2 separate regions of the Homo sapiens genome follow, and region 1 is linked to region 2. The links are contacts of gene promoters, found by promoter capture Hi-C in human tissues and cell types (Jung and others, 2019). All regions are on one chromosome and are shown on one strand. Each heading gives the region's core, a stretch centred on a gene start or on the middle of the fragment in contact. The rest is flanking DNA. Distances are from core to core; before and after follow the strand shown. Region 1 holds the start of SLC26A5 (solute carrier family 26 member 5). Region 2 holds the start of RELN (reelin).

The links. Contacts are between HindIII fragments. The study calls those that stand out against the background at their distance.
Region 1: a contact is called between the fragment with the promoter of SLC26A5 here and the fragment with the promoter of RELN in region 2, in 2 of the 25 tissues and cell types used here (mesendoderm cells and thymus).

Annotation. Positions count from the first base shown.
Region 1 is chr7:103,444,397-103,448,615 of GRCh38, reverse strand. It overlaps SLC26A5 (solute carrier family 26 member 5), which reads left to right and starts at 2,409. Exons shown (of 20, transcript NM_198999.3): 1 at 2,409-2,518. SLC26A5-AS1 (SLC26A5 antisense RNA 1) reads right to left here and starts at 3,409. Exons shown (of 4, transcript NR_110141.1): 1 at 2,097-3,409; 2 at 1,948-1,999. RefSeq lists a silencer at 2,334-2,403 and an enhancer at 2,460-3,036. The HindIII fragment of the contact is 9,476 bases long and covers 1-4,219 here.
Region 2 is chr7:103,987,313-103,991,646 of GRCh38, reverse strand. RELN (reelin) reads left to right here and starts at 1,989. Exons shown (of 65, transcript NM_005045.4): 1 at 1,989-2,516. The coding sequence starts at 2,291. The HindIII fragment of the contact is 8,012 bases long and covers 1-4,300 here.

The DNA.
Region 1 (4,219 bases), core at 1,160-3,659, 540 kb after region 2:
AACACCTCATGTTCTCACTCATAGGTGGGAGTTGAACAATGAGAACACCTGGACACAGGGAGGGGAACATCACACACTGGGGCCTGTCGGAGGTGGGGGGCTAGGGGAGGGATAACATTAGGAGAAATTCCTAATGTAGATGACGGGTTGATGGGTGCAGCAAACCACCCTGGCACTTGTATAGCTATGTAACAAACCTGCACATTCTGCACGTGTATCCCAGAACTTAAAGCATAATAAAAGAAGGAAGGCAAGGAAGGAAGGAAGGAAAGGAAGGAAGGAAGGAAAGGAAGGAAGGCAGGCAGGCAGCCAAGAACATGTAAACAAATATCTGTGGCTTTACAAAAACACAGGAAGAATAGATGAGAAATCATGACATTGTTTACTCACACAGGATTGGCTAGAATGTGTGGAACAAAGGAGGGAAGAAAATTCCCTGAGTATACGTTTTCAGATCTTTTTAATATTCTTTAATTTTTTCTTTTATCCGCTTTTAAGTTCTGGAGTACATGTCCAGGATGTGCAGATTTATTACACAGGTAAACGTGTGTCATGGTGGTTTGCTGCACAGGTCAACCCCATCACCTAGGTATTAAGGTCTAGCATCCACTAGCTGTTCTTCCTGATACTCTCCCTAATATTCTAATACCAAATAAATGTAATTAAGCCAGCAAGGATGGGAAGGGGGTAGGGGGTGGGGAAGACTCATATTAAAAGCAAACTCATCTCTAAACCAGAAATAATAGCAATATCTATACAAGTAAATACATGTACTCAGAACAGTGCCTACTACATGTAAACACTGAACAGGTGTTAGCAACATTGCCATTATTGTGTTAGTATATTAGGTACCTGGTGCTACCGGCAAAACCAGTTTATCATCCAACTGTCTCCAGTGTTGCTACTCAAAGTTTGGTCCTCCAGTAGCCTATCAGGATCACCCAGGGGCCTGTTAGAAAGGCACATCTCAGACCCCACCCCAGACCTACTGAATCAGAATCTGCGTTTTTAACGGGATCCGCAGGTGATTCCTATGCACATTAAAGTGTAAGAAGTACTGGGCTACAGACAGGTATGTGACAAAATAATTTCATAGGATGGCAAAGGCCAAGTGGCAAATGAAGGACACCAGAAATGCACGTCCCAGGAGCCCAACTCCTCCTTAGTAAATTACCCTATTAAGATTTGTTTAGAGATGTTCAAAAGCGTGGAGAAAAGCAAATTTGGTTTCCTCAGCTAGGGACGCGGAGAGTGGTCTGGTGCCCTTGAAGAGATCGCCCTCGTGTGGAGTAGGGAGGGAATCTCTAGCCTTTCCTCTCGGATGAAGAACAGCACCAGCGCTCCCAGCCAAAGGCCTGGCCCAGGTTCTGGAGGTGGGGTCTCCTTGGCAGAAGCCTCTGGTGTCTGCAGGCGTGCATTTACAGCTTTAAGACCAAACAGCTAGTCCGCCACGTGTCACTACAGTGTGCACGCGCAGAAATGCACAAAGCAAAAAAAAAAAAAAAGATGCTCTTAATGAACCAACTATAATCCTTGCTAAGGCATAAAGCCAGAGGGAAGTATGTATCTGAAATCATTTTCTACCCCTCACCCTCTTGGAGCCCGGCACTCTGGCTGCGGTGCTCTCTTGTATCCCAGTTGCTAGATGCAAAACAAGCTATTTCCTATCTAATTTTTTTTTTTAAGAGACGGAGTCTCGCTTTGTTGCCCAGGCTGGTCTCAAACTCCTGGACTCAAGCAATTCTCCCAGCTTGGGGTAACGTGTTACATTATTCTACTTAATAAAAAGCAAAAGTTGTTTTATAAATTCTAACTTAAATGCCCAGAAAATAACTTATCATGCATTGCCTTGTCGTGCAATAGTCAATATTTGCAAACCAAGTGTTAACCAAAGGCAGTTCATCAAAGATTTTTGAAAATTAAAAAAAAAAAAAAACTCATACTCACATTGTCCTCAGGATTTCCTGTTTTCGAAATGTTCCTGTACGAATCGGAGTCTCTATAATGATTGTAATTGAAAAGATAAGTCAGGTTTTTTGTGTTTTTTTTTCATTTTAAAATCATAATACGCAATGTTTTCCACTTGAACGCTATACCTTGTGTATTGTGCTTGCTTCAGCCTCGAGCCTCTACTGATGTTCCACCTCAAGGCGACAGGAATGCCACCTGGAGAAACTCCTGGGCGGTATGGGAAGAAAGCCGGTCTCATCAGAGTATATTTGCGGGGATCGACGACCAAGGTGTTAAATTCCAAGCACGCTTTGGAAAGTTCTAGGTGCTTGGGAAGAGATCCGTAGGCGGCAGGGATGCCCGCGCCCCGGCGTCCCAGCGCGGAGGGTGGCGGCGGGGCCTGGCCCTAGCGGGGCGGGGCGGGCTCGGGTTACCGGGAGTCGCGGGGCGCGGCCGGCACTGCCCGCGGCGCCTCCTCCTAGAGCCGCACCTGGAGGCAGCGCGCGCGTCGAAGAGGCAGCGGCTGTGGAGCGCGGCGGGGCGGCTCCGCCCAGGGCAGCCCGGGCTGGTGAGTGCGCGCGGGCGGCCGCGGGGCCGGGGGTCGCGGTCCCTCGGGAGGGGACTGAGCTGAGGCCCGCGGGCCCACCCGAGCAGGGGCCCTCGCTGTCACCGCCTCTGCCCCTGTCTCCCAGGCCCCATGTCGCGCTTTTTCCCTAAACGAACCGGTGACAGGGCTGACCTGCCCGCACTCTGCTGGTCCCTACGCCGGGAAGGAGAAAGTCTCACGAAGCTCTTTCCTTTGCAACCCCTGTCCCCTTGCCCTCTGCAGCTCCACACAGCATTTTTACTTCCCGTTTGCCTCCTCGAATCCCTTCGGTGCTAATCCAGCCCTTCGCCGTTTCCAGTTTGGGTCTGGCCTGTTTGTATCCAAATCGAATTACACAAAACCAGGCCCTCAGTTCTGCCTCTGGCCCTCTTTCCGGAGACGGGCCCTGCCTCCTCCTGTGCCGGGCTGGGCTTGCCCGGCATTGGCCGCCCGGAGCTCCCAGGGAGCAAGGCTGTGGTCCCGAAACTGGGCCCTCCGCTCAGCGCCGGGCAAGGCTCAAACCCCGGGTCTCTGACTTATCCGGTCACGAAGGGACTGCTCAGAGCCTAACAGCCCTAAAATTTGGTATTGGCCCCCTCCCGGGAAATCCTTCTCCCTACCAATCAGGCATCGCGGCAGGTGCTCTGCCATCATAGAGGCTCTGACACGCTGAACTCTCGAAGCTCGCGGCAGTGTTTATTTTTAGGAGAGATTTAGTTGATCGGGAACCAATTGACTTGGTTGACTGCCTCATCTAGTGCGCACCTGGGCCGGGCCCCGCCGGGAAGGCGTGCTGGACGTTCTCAGTGAGCTCCGAGACCTACAGAAGAAACAGCTGCAAGGATCCGATCAGCTAGCTGTGAAGAAAGCCTCAGATACGCTGTGGGGTGGGCAAAATTCTTTTCCTAGCTTCGATGAGTACTGTGGATTCTAGAATTTAAACAACATTCATGGAGACTCTTAAAACAACAAAAAATATCAACTTTTTGCGGGCACAGACTGAGATTTAGCTTTTTCCTATCTGAAAACTGAACAATGTGCACTAGATATAAATGTATTATCTAAAGTTTAGGAATTTACAGCATAGAAATGCAGGGGAATTCGGAGTATGCAATACGAAGTATCAACCTTTTTGAAAATGAAATTTAAAATGTATTTTTGTCAGGCATTCCTTCTAATTACGGTAGTATTGCTTTGTATCAGAAGACTTTCAGGCAAAGGACAGGAGGGAAGAGAGAGAAATTCAAACTAATTTGCATTAGAAAGAAACTTAGGGTGAAGAATTGCCTAGGTAAGGTTGCTATAGCTCATATCTTAAGTGCACTCTTGGAAAGCTTTCTAGTCTATTAGGTAACACCTGAAGCCCCAATTCTCTTATGTAGCATTTCTTTTTTTCTCTCTTTAACTACTCTGAAACTATACAGAGTTACACGTTCCTCATTAATTTATGAGTGAAACCAAAAGAATTGACTCAATCCAACAAGTATTTGAGTGCTTTTCGCATAGAGGCGCTTTGCTAAGAACAGAAGAATGGAAGACTGAGGAAGTTTCTAACAATCAATGGATTGCCTTGTGAGGTGTAGATGCAGGTGTGCACTGCCTATTTAATTGACGATCAAAGTCAGTTGAGTTTTCATCTCATTCTAAATATCATGTGTTGCCCCCTGGTATCTTAATTTTTCT
Region 2 (4,334 bases), core at 740-3,239:
GTTCAAGTCACAGCACTCACTAGCTGTGTGACCTTGGACAAGTTACTTAACCTCCCTGTGCTGTTTCATCATAGTAAAATGAAGCTATCAATGGTACTTTTCCCACAGTATTGTTATGAGGAATAAGGGAGTTAGTATGTATAGTACTTAGGACGGTGCTCAGTGCATAGTAACTAAACATTTTAAAAGTGTAAGCCAAAAACATTAAATAGTTTTGGATTCTTTCTACAAGTGATTAATTTTGTCTTTGGCTATATTCACATGACTGGACAGGAAGGCAGTAACAGCCTTGTTAGCTGTGGGCGAGTATCTCCTAATTCTGTTTGGGGCAACACCACCTGCTCCAGCTAGGGCTGTCGACTGTGGCAGGGCAGTGCAGGACAAGAGCCTCTGAGGCCAGCCAGTCTGCCCTGCATCCAGCCTTTGTCACTGACTTTGGGCAAGTTATCAACATTTCTGAGTGCCTCCTCCCTTGTGAAATAGGGATATTTTTTGCCTCTCCAGTTGGTGTTAGGATTAAAAAGCTAAAGTACGTCTAGCCCCACAGCCTGCACCCCGCAGAGCTACAGTGTAGCAATTGTTACCACATCATATATATATATATGCACATACATATATGTATACACTGTATATTATTTATATGGCAGTTAAGCCTCTGGGGATTTTGAAGTAAGGGAAACAAGAAGCCAGCTAGAAATGGGCCCTTTCTACCTGTCATTCGGTCTCAGTAAGAGGAAGAAAAACAATTTCTTCCTTTTGCAACGAAGTGATTACAGAGGTCTCCCCTTGGACCCTGATTTTCACCGCCCCTCGCCCCACAAATGCAGGCAAAGGCACTATCCCTTCCAATTTTATAATCTACTCATTTCTGTACGTGCGGGTTTATCTGGCTTGGTGGCAAGCCAAGGGTGGGTGGGGAGAGGCATTAAAACCTGGCAACCCCGCTCCCCCATCTCCGGATGCCGCAGGGCTCCTGCCAGCCGTCCTCGGTTAAAAACGTGCTTATGGATTATTTCACTTCCCTGCAGTTCATGTGCAGCCGCTCATTACCACCCGCTTCAATCACCGCTGCCAGCATCTCCCCTGAACGTTTTTCCCTCCCCCGATTTCAGGGCCATTGGTCATAACCGACATTTAAAGGAAATAAACACTGATTTAAAAAATTACAACACCCATCTCTGCCTGAAGAGCCCAGAAGCAATGAATAACAGAACAGTCCGGCGAAGAGAGCCTGTCGGATCTTAGCTCCGCCAGCCCTTCCTGCCTTACAATTCCCCACAACCGAGCAGCACAAATCACCATTTCCAGGCACCACTCGAGTCTGCCAATTCCACTTTCGCTTAATCTCATTTTAAAATCCTCTACAGATGAGGCTCTGTCGCTGCCGCGAGGGGCCGGGCGGCCGCGGCGGGAGGGACAGGGGGCCTGGGTGGGAAGGGAGCGCGAGGGCCCCTAGCGGTTCGCGGCCTCGGGCGGATTCCCAGAACGAGTGCGGGCCGCCCGGACTGGCAGACTGCGAGCCCCGAGGGGCGCGGGACGCAGCCGGCTCAGACAAAGAAACCGGCGCCAGCGGCCGTCCCTGCCGCCCCTCTCCTTCCCTCACGCATCCTCCCAGGAAAAACAGGGCACACTGACGGCCAAAGGGGCTGGCCTTCCCCTTCAGACAGCTGGACGGGAGGTGCCCTCTGCGGGGCTTTGACGTCCCTCGCAGAAGAGTCGCGGGCTCAGCGGTCCTCGACAGCGTCCCCGTCCCGCTCCCCGGCGGGCGCCCCTCCCTGTCCTCCCGGGTGCGAACCGGGCGCTGGCCGGGGACTCCGGGGACGCGTGCGCCCCTCGCCGCGCGAGGTGCCGCCGAGCCAGCCCGAGAGGGCGGGGGGCGGGCGGGGCGGCGCGCGGGGGCGGGGGAGCGGCCGGGACACGTGTGGCGGCGGCGGGGGGGACGCGGCGCCCGGGGCTTTAAGAAGGTGTGGAGCGGGGCGGGCGCTTTCCCAGGCCTGGCCGAGGGGCGTCGCGCAGAGGCGGCGGCGGCGCACGGAGGCGGCAGACGACGCGCTCTCGGCGCCCGCAGCCCCGGTCCCGCGCTCCCGCGGCCCAAAGTAACTTTGGGAGCCGCCGTCTCCCGCGGAACTTCTCGGCGGGGGCCCGCTCCCAGGCCCGCTCCCGAGCCCGTTCCGCTCCCGTCCGCCTTCTTCTCGCCTTCTCTCCGCGTGGCTCCTCCGTCCCGGCGTCTCCAAAACTGAATGAGCGAGCGGCGCGTAGGGCGCGCGGCGGCGGCGGCGGCGGCGGCGGCATGGAGCGCAGTGGCTGGGCCCGGCAGACTTTCCTCCTAGCGCTGTTGCTGGGGGCGACGCTGAGGGCGCGCGCGGCGGCTGGCTATTACCCCCGCTTTTCGCCCTTCTTTTTCCTGTGCACCCACCACGGGGAGCTGGAAGGGGATGGGGAGCAGGGCGAGGTGCTCATTTCCCTGCATATTGCGGGCAACCCCACCTACTACGTTCCGGGACAAGAATACCATGGTAGGTACCGCAGCACCTCCGCGCTCGCCGCCGCCGGGTGCGCCCGCCAGCGCACCTTTCTCATCCCTTTCCTTCTTCCAAGGGGCCTTGGAAACAAGAACCATGACAACCCTGGCCCCAGCGATGCGCTTGGTCCAGGGAGCGAGAATAAAGTTAGTGGAGAATGGAGTCACAAGTTGGGATTCATTCTCCATGTCCCCACTCCCCGAACGCATCTCCTGGTAATGAGCTGGTGCTTGTGCTAAACGCCTGAGAATTCTTGGAGGCCGGTGTCTTTCCCCCTCACTCCCCGTACTTACCGCAGGCACTTTAAATTGAACCTGCGCATTTTGTTTCTTTACTCCTAGGACTTGGATTTCAGACCTTTGTCCTGCTCCCGGTCCCCCCAGATGGGTCCCCGGGGGGGCGTTGGGGGCTGTCGCTGGGCTTTGCGGGCAGGCTGGTGACAGATTGAAGCGCCCAGGTCTGTGGCTGCCCCGCGCCGCTCGACCGCAAAGTTCCCGCTGCTCACCAGCCAGGAGTCCCTGGCATTTCATTCAGTGTCATACAGCCCTCCTGAAAGGGAGCGGCTGCTTCCAGCTCCCTATTCTTTTGAAAGTGTGATTTAATATGTCAGTAATTGATGATTTTTCTGATTCCTGCCTTACTTTTACATGGTGCTTCTTGTTAGAATTATCTTTGTGATGTTTATTAATGACTTTGTATTTTATCTGCACAGCTTTAATTTCCAGGTAGAGGCTGGAATCCCTTATAATTTAGAGGTATCTTAAAAATGGAATCATTATGCAGCCCTGCATCAAAAATAAACATTACAGAAGAAATAAAATTTAGCTCCAAGAAATATAATATTATGTAGTACATGTATTTTAAGCTAGTACATCGAGTATGTGGAAAAATAAAAAATGTCTCTTTTCTGTATTTCTTCTGGGACTTCTGAACATTTCATGCCTATAGAGCTTTTAAGCAGCGACAGGCACTATTTAATTAGAATTTCAACCCCAAAATATTTATACCCAACCAAATAGAAACCATTGTCCAGTAGGCTCCTGTTAATAGTTTCTATCTCTAATAGGCTAACAATCATTGGCATGGCGGGAGATAATCTACGGGGTGCTAGCACTTAAGATAGACAAGCATTTAAAAATTGTAAGAATCCTTAAGATTTTTCTGTTTTTAAAAAAACCTTGATATCTATTATAAAATATTTAGCCTAAATAAACGTCTCCTAGAGGTTTTAAACAGTGCTTTTACAACTTCCTTGTGGCATGGTGGCAGCCTTGTCTGTAAAGCAGAAGTTTAATTTGGTGGAATTTTAGAAATAATTTTGGAAAATTAATGTTCTGTAACTAGTCCCTTTTTAGATAAAAGTGCTTACTACGCCCTCTTCCCAAGAACAATCTAGTGCTTTTCTGAGATAATGAGAATCTTTAAGTGGAAGGAGCAGCTACTGTGATGGCAACCAGACCTAACCCAAAGCCTGATTGACAGCCTGCTGCTCCGTGCGACTCTTAGCAAAAGTTCTTGCCCGGTATGATCTCTCAGTGAGAACGGTGGGTAAGTGAGTGAGGCTGGTCTCAAAGGCGTGACTGTCAGGTTATGATGGAAGACCATGTGATGATACAAAGCTTTATTATTATTTTTTCTGTTTTCCACATCCTTTGGAAGGTCTCGATATTGAAAACTTAACTAAAAACACCAAAATATCATACACCCTTTGGTTTTGCTCCCTTGCACCCTTGAATAGCAAATGCAAGTCACCTTAAGACTCACCATAATCACATATCTAAGTCTGAAAAGGAATGGATAACATAGAGTAGA